Regions from separate parts of the Homo sapiens genome. Here regions 1, 2, 3 and 5 are each linked to region 4. Evidence: promoter capture Hi-C in 16 types of primary human blood cells and fetal thymus (Javierre and others, 2016). All regions are on one chromosome and are shown on one strand. Each heading gives the region's core, a stretch centred on a gene start or on the middle of the fragment in contact. The rest is flanking DNA. Distances are from core to core; before and after follow the strand shown. Region 1 holds the start of ITGA6-AS1 (ITGA6 and PDK1 antisense RNA 1). Region 2 holds the start of METTL5 (methyltransferase 5, N6-adenosine). Region 3 holds the start of BBS5 (Bardet-Biedl syndrome 5). Region 4 holds the start of METTL8 (methyltransferase 8, tRNA N3-cytidine). Region 5 holds the start of PPIG (peptidylprolyl isomerase G).

Region 1 (2,746 bases), core at 239-2,738, 1.0 Mb after region 4:
TAGTTGTTCCATGAGTCAGCCAGGCCTCAAAGATTGTAAACCTGATGGTGAGTAAAGGTGTTAGCAAAAGAGACCTAGCAACAAGGTCATTGGATCTCTAAAGAGCCTGTCAAGCTGTGAGATGGTGAAATTTTAAGGACTGTGGATTTGGACTGGGGGCCTCCTTATAGGAGATAAAAACACTCGGCTGGGGAGAAGAAGGAATATTACAGTGCCTAGTACATAAGTGGAGCTACACCAGTTGTCCCTGAATCCTTTGTGGGAGACTGATAGGATGAGAGAGGACGAACTCTTGTAATGTGACAAAAGTGCAAGGAAGTAAGAACTGACTTGGAAGAACAAACATCAACTTGTACACCTCAAATATATCTGCTTTTTATTTGTCCATTCTACCCTAATAAAACTGGAGGGAAAAAAAAAAAAGAATTGGAAAGAGGCCAAGGCTGCAAGTGAATAATTCAGTCGAGTTGTATCTTACTTACCATTAGGTTCTCTCAATTAGTATATAAACTGAAAATCTAAGATATAGTCAGAATTACCCTTGAAAACTACCTCAGGAAGGCACAGTGTTAGAAACTGACATATTATTGCTTATTACATTTAGTGTGGCCATTTTTTCCTTCCATTGTCACAAGTATTTGGTTTCTTCTCTTGAGTTTCATATGATATCCCTGGCATCATAGGGGCTTAGAGGTTGTATTCTTTGAAGAGGGTGTCTTTTAAACACCAGATCATACCCAGCAAGAAATGCTGATACTATGAGAGACAGGCCTATTTTCCTCGTTTTGGTATCCCCTCTTTGGCTTCCCCTGTTTAGTTGTGTTTGTGCGTTTTGCATGAACCAGCCATAGGACTCTACATTTGTTCTCACTCACTGCCTAAGCTGTTGAAGAATTAGTGGACTCCTAGACAAAGAATAATCCCACTATCTCCTAGTTCTGACTGATTTAACTGTTAAACGTATATTAAATTCAAATCTCCAAATTGTCTCTGTTTCATCAACAGGTTGCTCGTGGGGGCCCCGCGGGCAGAAGCGCTTCCACTGCAGAGAGCCAACAGAACGGGAGGGCTGTACAGCTGCGACATCACCGCCCGGGGGCCATGCACGCGGATCGAGTTTGATAACGATGGTGCGTTCCTTTCCCTCACTCAGCGTTCACTCCGGCAGCTTGCCTGTACTGTTTCCATGAGGGAGGAGAGTGGGGACAAACATTTATTCTTGTAGAGAGGACTTCTTTTAATTGCATCAGACTTGACTGTTTTTTATTTGCCCTGAAAATATTTACTTACTTTACTTCTGAATCATACTGGGATGCCGCGTGTTTTGCTGCTCCTCCTAACCGTGGTTTCTAAACCGATATGGTGTAGGGATGTTGCCACCTAGTGATGTGTTGAGGTTCTGCAGGAGGTTGTGGAAAAACTCATTTCATAGCAATGAAGAGAATGAATGAGCGTATCTTGTATTCATCAGCCAAAAGTTCTCACATGCTGTTAAAATATTTGGGAGAAAGACAGTTTTAAATATCAGACCCCTTTGGAATGAGAGCTGGCTAACAGAGATAAAGTTTTCCCTCCTGTCTCAGATAGAGACTTGTTTTGTTAAGGGCTCTGGATAGGTAGAAGATACCATGAGGTAGGCATGTTGACATCCAGTGTACCTGGCTTCTTGTAGGTTGAGCAGAGCAATTAGTGTACTGAGAAGCTCTAGCCAAACCTCGTTTGATATGTTCGGTCTAAGTAGATTTGCAGATTCGTGTCTATGTTCTTCTCTTGCTTCTTCATCTTTTAGAAATAACATTTGTTGGCCAGGCGTCGGTGGCTCACACCTGTAATCCTAGCATTTTGGGAGGCCGAGTTGGGTGGATCATTTGAGGTCAGGAGTTCAAGACCAGCCTGGCCAACATGGTGAAACCCCATCTCTACTAAAAATACAAAAATTAGCCAGGCGTGGTGGTGTACGCCTGTAGTCCTAGCTACTTAGGAGGCTGAGGCGTGAGAATTGTTTGAACCTGGGAGGCAGAGGCTGCAGTGAGCCAAAATCGTGCCACTACACTCCAGCCTGGGTGACAGAGCAAGATACCATCTCAAGAAAAGAAATAACATGTGTTCTTTTATTAGAAACTAATATGTGTTAATTTTAAGAAGCTGGTAAAATACACAGACCTATGAAGAATAAAAAAACCCACTGGCAATCTCAGTATCTAGACTTATTTTTTAACATTTTGGCATTTTTCCTTCTGTCTAAAGTTGTTTAATGTTTTTGTAATGATTCAAGATTAAAACCTGTGTCTGTATTGCTACTTATGGAGGAGTGCAAAATTTGGATATAGGTCACACAGTGGGTTTAAATTGATACTGAAATGAGCACCTGGTGGTGTTTGTGGTCCCCGTCTCTCTGACTAACAGTAACTCTCCTGTTTGGCATTGATACATTGTCAGCTACAAGATCCTAAAGTAAATCTGAGTCTTTTTCTTCCATCTCCAGTAAAGAAGAGAACATTTAATGCTGTTAAATAAAAAAATTGGGGAGTATATAGAGAAGTACCCATTTTTTTTGTTAGTTTGGATGGTAGCTGCAGTTTGGAATACTAGATTTTACATTGTTGCCTTAAGAGATGTATTTTGGAGGGCTCCCTTAGTCTTACAGTTTCACTTACCTTCTGCATTCAGGACCCTAGGTATCAAGAGAGGGCAAAGGGTATTGTTGGACAAAATAGGCAACTATATAGAGCTAAGTACTTTATGT
Region 2 (2,700 bases), core at 171-2,670, 1.6 Mb before region 4:
GGAACTGGAAAAAACTCCTTGCAGGTACTCTCAGAAAATTAATTTTCCTAAGGAGCCAGCCTCAGTGGCTCATGCCTGTAATCTCAGCACTTCTTGAGGCCCCAGTGGGAAGATCGCTTCAGCCCAGGAGTCTGAGACCATCTTGGGCAACATAGCAAGACGCTGTCTCTACAAAAAATAAAAAATATTAGCCAGGCATGACGGTGCATGCCTGTAGTCCCAGCTACTCGGGAGGCTTAGGTAGGAGGATCACTTGAGTCCTGGAGGTCAAGGCTGCAGTTGCCGTGATCATGCCACTGCACTCCAGCCTGGGTGACAGAGTGAGACCCTTATCTCAAAAAATAATAATAATAAAATTTTTTTCCCCTAAGGTTTCCCAATGACTTCGGTAACATAAATATATGTTGTCCTGTATTCTCTCTTGTACTCCCAGTATCAATATCTGGCATGAAGCAACAATGCTAATGCTCAGAAAATCTGTTAAAATATGCATGCTCATCTTTACACAGCACATACTCTGATTTTGTTAAACTATCATTCCACTATCAACTCTGGTATTCATTTCTAGGGCAGAGTATATAGCACAAGAATCCTTGCGTAGGCAATTAGTAGCAATGGGAAACTGATCCTTATTTAGTAAATGTTTACTGAGCTCCTAAATAGTACCAGCGACTCTTCTGGGCACTGGGAATTCAAGTATGAACAAGTCTAACAAATTCCTTGTCCTCAGAGATTGTAATGTGAGAAGAGAAAAAAACACATTAAAAAGATGTCTGGCAGTGTTAAGGGATATGCAGAAAACTAGACAGTAAAATGATAGTGTGTATGTCTGTGGAGGGTGTGCCTTGAGCTGCAGTGTCAAGGAAGGCCTCTCTAACGCGACAGGTGATCTTAGGGCAGAATTTCTCTAGACATTCTCTGTATCCAAATAACTGTTCTATTTTTATCACAGAGTAGACTGGACTAACGCCGAAAGCCGGGGCGTGGTGAACCAGCCGCCCTACCTGCAATGTGCGGCCTGGTAGGATACTGTTCCAGAAGTAGCTTGGGCTTTTCAAATCCATCCACTTGTTGCAGGCGACTCTCTAGTTCCTTAAGCCTTACTTTCTTCATTTTGTTTTAAAGTATGGACTCGTAGGGTTTGAAGGCACAGGATCTGCGGAGAAATCTATTGAACTGGGATCTTGTTTCCTCCCTACCCCCAACCTTCTCCCTTTTTCAGCACCGCTGGCCGGACCCGAAGACGCGCCCTAAGGAGACGCCCGGACGCAGGGCACGGGGCGAGCCTCTGACCCACCTCCCGGCTAACCCAAGCCGCCCCAGGAGACGGCGGCGGCGCACTGCTGGAGCAGCCTCAGGATCCCTCGCGCCACGACCACGCACCTCTGGAGGCGACCCGCACCTCGGCCGGTGCCGGAAGCGCCAGGCCGCACGCGCGCACGCGTTCGCCGCCCAGCGGCCCGGCGCCGAGCTGCAGCGTTTATCTTGAGCCGGGGTTCCGCTGGCCACCTGGGGGCCTCATTGCCCCATCCCCTCCGCCTGCAAAGCCTGCGCTACTTGCTGACCCACCGCCAGTCCTCGCCGCCTGTCGCGTGCTCATTACCCTCTAGTTTGCCATGAGTACCTGCGGGCCCTCAAAGGATGGGGAAAGACAGAGTGAAAGGGATGCGGGAGAGAAAGTCACAGTCACTTTGTTGTATGGCCCAGAGTGACTCTTCTTGTTTCCCAAGTCTCGGCTCAAAAAGTAGCGATCTCCATTCACCTTTACCTCCTTCTCCATTCTCATGCCTTATTTTATTGTAACTTTGTTTCCCAATTTTTAGGTCATTTGTGTCACTTGCAATTCTCACAGGAGTGGTGATGTCAAAGAAACCCAAAGAAGAGATAGTGGAGAGGCAGGGCGCGGCGGCTCACGCCTGTAATCCCAGCACTTTGGGAGGCCGAGGTGGGTGGATCACGAGGTCAGGAGATTGAGACCATCCTGGCTAACACGGTGAAACCCTGTCCCTACTAAAATTACAAAAAAATTAGCCGGGCTTGGTGGCGGGCGCCTGTAGTCCCAGTTACTCGGGAGGCTGAGGCAGGAGAATGGCGTGAACCCGGAAGGCGGAGCTTGTAGTGAGCCGAGATCAAGCTACTGCACTCCAGCCTGGGAGACAGAGCGAGACTCCGTCTCAAAAAAAAAAAGACAGTGGAAATGAAAATAAAAGAATAGGTAGTGGTGTCAAATACTGGAAAGAGGTCGGGCTTCATAAAGTAGGAGCAGAAATTAAGTTGTAGCAGATTGTGGAGCGAATGGAAATTTAGGAAGAAGAAAGAGTAAATGTGAACAATTAAACGTGGCCCCGGAAGCGGTGGCTCACCCCTGTGATCCCAACATTTTGGGAGGCCGAGATGGGCGGATTGCTTGAGACGGGAGTTTGAGACCAGCCTGGGCAACATAAGGAGACCCTGTCTCTACTAAAAATACAAAAATTAGCTGGGTCTGATGACGCGAGCCTGTGGTCCCAGCTGCTCGGGTGGCTGGGGTGGGAAAATCGCTTGAGCCCGGGAGGCAAAGCTTCCAGTGATCTGAAATTGCGCCACTGCACTCCAGTCTGGTCGACAGTGAGACCCTGTCTCAAAAAAAAAAAAAAAAAAAAGAAAGAAGAAAAGAAAGAGAAAGAGAAAGGTGGCCTACGAAAAGAATGGTTGGATGCT
Region 3 (2,700 bases), core at 162-2,661, 2.0 Mb before region 4:
AGCCCAAGCAGAGATTTAAGTGACAAAGGGCAGGCCTATGCAGAGGTCTGGGGAAACAGTGTTCCAGGCAAAGGAAGGGGGCCCTCCAAAGTCTCTGAGCCCTGTCTGGCAAGAGAGCAGCCAGAAGTGAGGGTGGTTGGAGGTTGCAGACATAGGCAGGGCCACATTGAGCTAGGCCCAGGTAAGGAATTTGAAGCTTTAACTCTAAATTTCTTTTTTCCTCATTCTAAAACCATCCCAATAAAATTTATAAAAGTAATCAGGGAAGAAAGTGTGGGGGAGGGGACAAAAATAAACCAAGCTTGCAGCCAATTCGGCATTAATCATGAGGTCAGCTTCCTCTCTGACCTGCTTGCTCAGAGTTGTTTGGTGCCTATTGTCCTAGAATCATGCAGACCCTGTCACAAGATTATAGTTCCCTTCTATTGCTCTATAGAGAACAACTTGAACATTATGAAATACTCAGTTTTCCCTTTGAGATAGTCTTTCAGATCCTGCATACCAATGAAACTACTGCCTCAGCTGGCCTGAAGGATCCCACTGATGCCAGCTGGTCTGAGGAACCCGTGAGAAACTGATTCAGCAAAGAATGCAGCTTCCCTATCCTGATGATTTCATCTCCCTTACTCCGACCAATCAAGGACCCCAATTTTCCAGCCCCTCGCCCTCTGTGATCCTCTTAAAAACCTCAGCCCAGAACTCTTGGGAAGATAGATTCGAGGATCTCTTCCCATCTCTTTGCTAGGTGCCCTGCAATCATTAAACTCTTTCCCTGCTGCAAACTCTGCTGTCTTCGTGTAATGGGTTTGTTACTGCACAGCAGGCATACGAACCTGTTGATCCTATATCTCTATCACCTAGGCTGGAGGGCAGAGGCACGATCATAGCTCCCCGCAGCCTCCACCTCTTGGGTTCAAGAGATCCTCCCGCCTCAGCCTCCCGAGTAGTTGAGCCTGCAGGCGTGCACCACCACCCCTGGCTAATTTTGGGTTGGTTTTGTTTGTTTGTTTGTGTTTGTAGAGATGAAGTTTCGCTATGTTGCCCAGGCTAGTCTCGAATTCCTGGCCTCAAGTGATCCTCCAGCCTCGGCCTCCCAAACTGCAGGGATTACAGGCAGAAGCCACCATGCCCGGCTAATAACCTGAATCTCTTGACGGTGAAGAGAAATAAGGAGAGGGGTAAAATGGCTAAAGGATGTCTGTTTGGAGGCAAGGAAGGTCGCCCAGAGGTCAGGCACGCTCCCCTTGGCGGACACAGCTGGGCTTCTCAGAGACTCCTAAATCCTGCCTCGCATCTCAAATCGGCTTAACGACGCGAAAGAGCTGGGCGACGCGCGCGCACTCTCGCGGAAGCTTGAGTCTCGGCGCCCGCCGTAGACGTCGTGACAGAGGCGGCCCGTTGCCTTGGAGCCAGAGAGACGCAGCTAGGCCTGCACGGCTGTGGAGAGATCCTGCCACGGGCCTTGTTCACCATGTCGGTGCTGGATGCGCTTTGGGAGGATCGGGATGTCCGTTTCGACCTGTCCGCGCAGTGAGTTTCCAAGATTCCCGAGGGATCTTCAACCCTGTAGAGGGCGCCGCCGTGCGCGTTAGGGACCCGCGGGCGGAGACTGCACCTCCGCAGCTCGCGGCCCTGGTGAGGGTGGGAGGCTTGCGCCGGTCGTCCGCGCCTCGAGAGACCTCAGGCTGGTTGGGCCACTGTGGCCCTCTCGAGGCCGGCGCCGCGGCAAGAGCGCATCGGCATTACACAGTTTTGGTCCCATGCGACCTCCGGTTCCCCCATCCTGGCCCGCGGGACGGATCAGGAATGTGAACCTGAGCACGACCGGGGCCACCCGGGGCTTAGCGTCCCGTATACACCCACGTGAGCTTGGGATTTCAGTTTCATGGAAGGAACGTAGGTCAGGGACTCAGGAAACTAGGGTTCTAAAAGTAGATGTGTAATATCGACCCACAGTGTGGGCCCTTGAGCAGATGTCTTCATCATTCAAGCTAGAATCCTCATGTCTGTAAAATAAGGGAGGTGGGAGTAAGGCAGTCGTCAAAAATTACTAACCGCGCAAACTTTATGTCCTTGGTAAGCTTTCATCTAGTTATTCATATCAGTCACCAACAAGAAGGAGTCTTCTTTTGCAACCTGTTTTTGGAAATTATCATACATTAAATAGAAACCATGTTTTTGGAAAGTATCGTAAAGAAAAAGTGGTTAGAAACCTCCTACTCCAAAATCCAGGGCGGGAAATGCCGGTTGGGTTACTAAGTGTTGAGAAACGCTAAAGCTAAGATTCCTGGATTAATGGCATGGAGCTTCTTAGCTACTTCTTATCGTTCCTTATCATGGACCTCCCCTCCTTAGGTGGAATCGTTCCTTATCATGGACCTCACCTCCTTAGATGGAATCGTTCCTTATCATGGACCTCACCTCCTTAGATGGAAAAATGAAATATTGATAAATTTCTCAGGTTAAGTATAGCTAGATATCTAATGCTAACATGTTAGACCCTTTAAGAAGATGAAAGAGAAAGGAATTCGTAAAATTACGGACTGTAGTAACATATTGCGCACTTTCTATGACATTTTCTGTCATTCTTTTTTTTTTTTTTTTTTTTTTTTTTTTGAGACAGAGTTTCGCTCTTGTTGCCCAGGCTGGAGTGCAATGACGCGATCTCGGCTCACTGCGACCTCCGCCTCCCAGGTTCAA
Region 4 (2,700 bases), core at 201-2,700:
TATCTTTTCTGGGTTCCAGTTTTCTCAGTGACAGCTGCATTCATGAATTACCAAATTAACTATTGTAGCACTCTCTAAAAATATACAAAGCACTCTACCGTATGCTGTAAATAAGTCATGAAAAATCAGCAAAAGCTCGAGCCCTGAAGGAAATTCAGCAGGGTTAAAAAGAGATATGGCCAATGTTTACTAAACACTTAAACTGTGACCCAACACACTCACCCAGTACTGTAAGTACTCACTTAATGTCATCAACAGATTTTTGGAAACTGACTGTAAGCAAAATGACATATAACAAAACCATTTTTACCATAGGCCAATTGATATAAACAAAAGTTAAGTTCCTATAACATATTTCTGGTCACAAAAACATCACCAAACTCCTAAATACAAACCAAAACACTTCTAATATTAAACATTGAAATAAATGGGAGCTATACATACATTTAAGGAAGATTAATAAAAACAAGTAAGATAGTTATTTACCTAATTATTCCAGTTCAGGGTCGAGGGTGGCTGAAGCCTATCCCCTCAGCTCAGGGTGCAAGGTGGGAACCAACCCTTGGACACGACGACATTCCATCGCAGGGAGCACTCACACTCACACTCAGACAGGAAACACAGACAAGGCCAATTCATCCAGCCTGCACTGAGATGTGGGAGGCAGTACCCTGGGGTACCTGGTGAAAACCCATGCAGACGTGGGGAGAAGGGGCAAGATCCACACAAACAGTAGCCCCGGTAGGAAATTATTATTTTTTCTCATCAAGTTATACAAAATGACACTGAACGAAAAAATGCGATTCAAGGACCTGCTGTACTGTACTTTTTGCTCTGCCAGTCAGGTGCGATCGCTGGCTTTCTTTGAGCACCTATGAACAAGAGGTAGCATGCCCAAGTCCACGTGGGAGATACAGCGGCCCCACCCTTAAGGGACTTAGAGCATGGCGGTGGGACACATGTGGTGCAAGCTTGCTGAAAGTTTAGTGTGCTGGGAACTTTGAACATACAGGCAGGGCTAGTTAACAAAGTATATCTTTTACTTAGAGACATCGACGAGGAATATCTTAGGCCGTCCAATAAGAATGTAAGCATTTCATATTTTATTCCCTATAAAGAAAAAAGAATGGAGGCGAGAGGAAATGAAATGAAGCAATTATCGCAAAACCAGTCAGTGTCCCCGCAGGCCACCCAAGGACAAGCCTCCGGGAAAGAGTAACTCAATCCCAGTTTGGAGGGTGAAACTAAGAGTGAATGGGAAGCCAGCATCTTCCTAATACAAAAGCACAGTTTACCGTCCCCCTCAGCCAACATGCGGCTGAAGGGAAAGCCGCGGGGCGTACCTTTAGCACGGGACGCTGCTTTGGGGGGATCGCCCTCGACACAGCGCCCCTCCCGGCACCTGGCCAGAACCTCCCAGGGCGAAGGTCGGGGCCGAGAAGCTTGTGAGTACCGGGGCAGTGAGGGAGGGATCCCTAAGTGCAGGGCGCACACACGGGGCGGAGACCTGGAGGCGGCAGCACCGCGCCCCCAGGGCTCTGCCCAGCTAGCCACTCGCAGCACAGAGAAGCGCGCCCGCAAGACAGCGCAGCCTCCGCGGGCCGGAGGAGGCGGGGCCGCGGCAGGCAGAGGCAGGGCCGGGCAAGCCCTCGCTCCCCGCCGCCTGACGGGAATTGTAGTTCCTGGGAGAAGCCGGGCTGCCTCACGAGGCACTAGGAACTACATTTCCCGGTGAGAGAGCGGCTCCGGCCGGCCGCGCGGTACCGGAGCGTCGCACTGTCAGCGGCCAGAGAGCCTGGGGCAGATCGAAAAGGGAGTGCTTCTTCCCTTCTCTCCGCGCTCTGGCGGTGCAAGCGGCTCTGCTTTCCCTCGCCCCGCCGTCGGGTGCTCCCTGCCCGCCTCCCCGTGTCAGCTTTCCCTGGGCCCCGCCGGGAAAGTCTGGGCCTCGAAATTCGAAGGCAGCGGCGGCTGCCCAGCACGGGAGTGTGGGGCGCGCCACTCGGCGGCCCAGCCTACCCAGGGCCCGGCCCGCGCCTCCATGGGCCCGACCCGGAAGCCCAACGTGTGCAGCCGGCTGAGTCGCCGGGCGCTGGGCTGCTTCTCGCGCGACGCAGGCGTGGTGCAGAGGACCAACCTGGGCATCCTGCGGGCGCTGGTGTGCCAGGTGACCGCCAGCCGGCCGGGGCGGGACGGAGGGCCGCGGGCGCGCGGCGGCCGAGCCTCCTGCGGGGATGCGGTTTTAACGCGCTGGGGCCTCCCTTTATAGGGTCACATGTGATGGGGAGGAGGATACAAGCCCGGAATCTGGGATAGGTGGTAATAGGGCCACCAGCTGCTTTTAGTTTTACGCTTCTTATGTCTTACCTGGAAACAATTATTCTAAAAGTTGGTCACCTCATTAAGCCAAAACATGAGGGCAGAGTGGAGGAAGGATGCAAAAAGTTTTAAAATAATATAGGTGACATTATGTTGCTTTGAAAATTTAAAATCTAACTTAAAGCCTAAGAGTTCTTTCCTGAACGGAAATTCTTTATGTCTTTTAGGAAAGTACTAAATTTAAGAATGTCTGGACAACTCATTCCAGGTCACCTATAGCCTATGAGAGAGGAAGAATATATTTTGACAATTATCGGCGCTGTGTCAGCAGGTAACTTTTTATTGATAATTTTGCTGTAATTCACCTCACTGTTGATCTTAACT
Region 5 (2,700 bases), core at 153-2,652, 1.8 Mb before region 4:
AATGGTATTTCTGCCTCTAGGTCTTTGAGGAATCGCCACGCTGTCTTCCACAATAGTTGAATTCATTTAAACTCCCACCAGCACTGTAAAATGTTCCTTTTTCTCCACAACCTCACCAGCACCTGTTATTTTTTGACTTTTTAATAATAGCCATTCTGACTGGTATGAGATAGTATCTCACTGCGGTTTTGATTTGCATTTTTCTGATGATTGGTGGTGTTGAGCTTTTTCATTATGATTGTTGGCTGCAAGTATGTCTTCTTTCGAAAAGCGTTGGCCGGGCGTGGTGGCTCACACCTGTAATCCCGGCACTTTGGGAGGCCAAGGAGGACGGATCACCTGAGGTTGGGAGTTTGAGACCAGCCTGACCTACATGGAGAAACCCTGTCTCTACTAAAAATACAAAAAATTAGCCAGGCCAGTCTGTGGCCCAGGGGTTGGGGACCCCTGTTTTAAGGTATTGCAGAATTGTCCCCTCCACACACAGCGAAGTGTAAATCCGTTTAATCTCTGAACTATCTAAAGATGAATATGCTGCTGCTCTCCTGCAATAAAGGGCAATGACTTAAAAGAGGTGGGGGTGGAGAGGCAGAAATGTCCTCTGTTTTACTGCTGTGTAAAACTGGTCACGCCCCTTAGAAGCACCACCACATGCCTAACTGTTGTTGATAATTAATTTACCTGATGCAAGTGAGTGAAAAATTTAAATGATCATAATTTACGTTGCCTTTAAACGACAGAACAATTTAAGTCCTCTAGTTAGCTAGTTCCTTTAAAACACACCCCACATCCCTACCAGAATCACTGCCCATCCCCCCCCACCCCCCCGCCCAAACAGCAATGGTTATTTATTTCTAACATAATCCGGGGACCCTTGCCCCTTAAAATAATTAAATAATATATGCCATATTTTCTCTAGAAGGCACTAGATTTGGCATCAAAAGACTTGCTTTGGCATTCAAGAACAGTGTGTTTGAGGAGGAGGCGTTTATCTTCCCTGAGCCTCAATTTCTTTATCTGTAAAACAACAAAGAACATCAAAGCTCTTTGTAATTTCTTCCTCTTTCCTCAAATAACACTTTGCTCATTACTGCGTTTTTAGAACTTATATCCTAGCGTTAAGTGGAAGCTTAACTGGAAGCTCCATGAAGGTAGGCCTTCCTTTCTGATAACCTAGCGTAAGATCAATAAATGTTTATTAAATGAGGCACTTTACTTCACAAAGGATATGGCATTTTAACGGTTACAAGCGTTCCCAGTCAACGCATCCACAAAGCATTAGGCCACCTATAAACTAGGAATTTAAAAGGCACCAAAATCCTAGAAGTCCTAGGAGGGCGTGGTGACGCAAGCAGGTGAACGCTGGCCGATGCTGACAACCCACTCCTGACGCGCTTCCGGTGCGACGCTGTCTCTCCATGCCAGGACTGAGTTGTGGGGGAGGGAGGCGGTTAGCGGGCTTTAGCGCCTTTTCTGGCGGCGGTAGATTTGAAGCGCTTCAAAGGACCGGACCCAGAGAAGAGGAAAACTCTACCGGTGCAGGTAAGTGGTATGAGGCTCAAGTTGTTCTGGCGGCGTCATTTCAGCAGTCCCTGCGTACGAAAGCGGGAAGGGCCTGGGAAGAGGGGCGGAGCCGGCGCGGCTGACCGGGTTGGGTTTACCGTCTTTCCCTCGAGGTATCGGGGCTGCTTGGGCCCAGAGGAAGTCCCTGAGGACCGCAGCAGTGCCTTTGCCGCTGTTGCAGAAGGAGAAGGCTTGCAGTCGAGCCCCGGGGCCTGGGGACGGTCCTTCCTCTGCCAGCCCCCGCCCTCCCCACTCAGGCGCACACCTCCCTCACTGACGCATTTTGCCGCACAAGCTGTAACATGGCGGCAGCGACTGCGGCCTGAACTCTAGGGAGCCGGGTTGATTTTTAAAGCTTCAAAATCCTAAGACTCAGCACTGTTGCGGGGTAGGTGGCGGGACTGGTGGGGAAGGGGGAGACAGCCTGACGTCCTGTCAGGCTAGGGTTGGAGAGTGACGGGCGAAGAGCCTGAATCACAGGGATTAAAATTGAAGACTAGCTTTCCTCCTCTTTCGACCTTTTCCTCTCACAGCACAGTGGCTGTCGTGCAGTTAAGTGGCAGAGGCCACTTTGTTAAGCATTTTTCTAAAACTCAAGTCCAGGGTCTTGAGCTCTCGCGAAGTTCCCCCGTGTTTCGGAGGAGCTGTGAGCTGCGCAGGCCTTTTAGGAGGAGATAATTACTCTTTAGGAGGAAGATGATGATTTCGGGGCTCAGTATGCCTGAAGGGGAAGTATGCTAATTTGGTTCTTGGTTAGTCTTTTTTTTTGAGACGGAGTCTCGCTCTGTCGCCTAGGCTGGAATGCAGTGGCGCGATCTTGGCTCACTGCAACCTCCGCCTCCTGGGTTCAAGTGATTCTTCTGCCTCAGCCTCCCAAGTAGCTGGGACTACAGGCACGTGCCACCATGCCCGGCTAATTTTTTGTGTTTTTAGTAGAGACGGGTTTTCACCGTGTTAGCCAGGATGGTCGATCTCCTGACCTCGTGATCCGCCCACCTCGGCCTCCCAAAGTGCTGGGATTACAGGCGAGAGCCACCGCGCACGGCCAGCTCATGTTTAGTCTTAAGGAGCAAAGTCTAGATGTGCTGGCAAGGAGTATGCACAATCGTTTTGGAAATGCTATAAAAGCACCATTTT

Evidence for each region. Contacts are between HindIII fragments. The CHiCAGO score rates a contact against its expected background, and 5 or more counts as called.
Region 1: the fragment with the promoter of ITGA6-AS1 here is called in contact with the fragment with the promoter of METTL8 in region 4 in 5 of 17 cell types (fetal thymus, total CD8 T cells, total CD4 T cells and 2 more); the score reaches 11.8 in fetal thymus.
Region 2: a contact is called between the fragment with the promoter of METTL5 here and the fragment with the promoter of METTL8 in region 4, in 2 of 17 cell types (non-activated CD4 T cells and naive B cells). The highest score is 7.6, in non-activated CD4 T cells.
Region 3: a contact is called between the fragment with the promoter of BBS5 here and the fragment with the promoter of METTL8 in region 4, in 4 of 17 cell types (activated CD4 T cells, naive CD8 T cells, total CD8 T cells and 1 more). The highest score is 7.4, in activated CD4 T cells.
Region 5: the fragment with the promoter of PPIG here is called in contact with the fragment with the promoter of METTL8 in region 4 in 7 of 17 cell types (naive CD4 T cells, total CD8 T cells, non-activated CD4 T cells and 4 more); the score reaches 11.9 in naive CD4 T cells.

What each region holds. Positions count from the first base shown.
Region 1 is chr2:172,464,534-172,467,279 of GRCh38, forward strand. It overlaps ITGA6-AS1 (ITGA6 and PDK1 antisense RNA 1), which reads right to left and starts at 1,489. Exons shown (of 2, transcript NR_157573.1): 1 at 1,291-1,489; 2 at 1-41. ITGA6 (integrin subunit alpha 6) reads left to right here. Exons shown (of 26, transcript NM_000210.4): 2 at 1,006-1,130. It overlaps PDK1-AS1 (PDK1 and ITGA6 antisense RNA 1), which reads right to left. Exons shown (of 4, transcript NR_199657.1): 4 at 1-41. RefSeq lists an enhancer at 1,730-1,899. The HindIII fragment of the contact is 13,641 bases long and covers 1-2,746 here.
Region 2 is chr2:169,823,485-169,826,184 of GRCh38, forward strand. It overlaps METTL5 (methyltransferase 5, N6-adenosine), which reads right to left and starts at 1,421. Exons shown (of 7, transcript NM_014168.4): 1 at 1,005-1,421. The coding sequence starts at 1,113. RefSeq lists a silencer at 1,967-2,170. The HindIII fragment of the contact is 10,424 bases long and covers 1-2,558 here.
Region 3 is chr2:169,478,083-169,480,782 of GRCh38, forward strand. It overlaps BBS5 (Bardet-Biedl syndrome 5), which reads left to right and starts at 1,412. Exons shown (of 12, transcript NM_152384.3): 1 at 1,412-1,530. The coding sequence starts at 1,472. RefSeq lists enhancers at 1,226-1,335, 1,346-1,685. The HindIII fragment of the contact is 729 bases long and covers 1,351-2,079 here.
Region 4 is chr2:171,432,540-171,435,239 of GRCh38, forward strand. It overlaps METTL8 (methyltransferase 8, tRNA N3-cytidine), which reads right to left and starts at 1,451. Exons shown (of 10, transcript NM_001321154.2): 1 at 1,344-1,451. It overlaps DCAF17 (DDB1 and CUL4 associated factor 17), which reads left to right and starts at 1,687. Exons shown (of 14, transcript NM_025000.4): 1 at 1,687-2,164; 2 at 2,544-2,647. The coding sequence starts at 2,039. RefSeq lists enhancers at 685-854, 832-1,392, 1,065-1,134, 1,954-2,513 and a silencer at 1,445-2,354. The HindIII fragment of the contact is 4,328 bases long and covers 1,441-2,700 here.
Region 5 is chr2:169,582,949-169,585,648 of GRCh38, forward strand. It overlaps PPIG (peptidylprolyl isomerase G), which reads left to right and starts at 1,403. Exons shown (of 14, transcript NM_004792.3): 1 at 1,403-1,542. RefSeq lists an enhancer at 1,319-1,368. The HindIII fragment of the contact is 789 bases long and covers 1,128-1,916 here.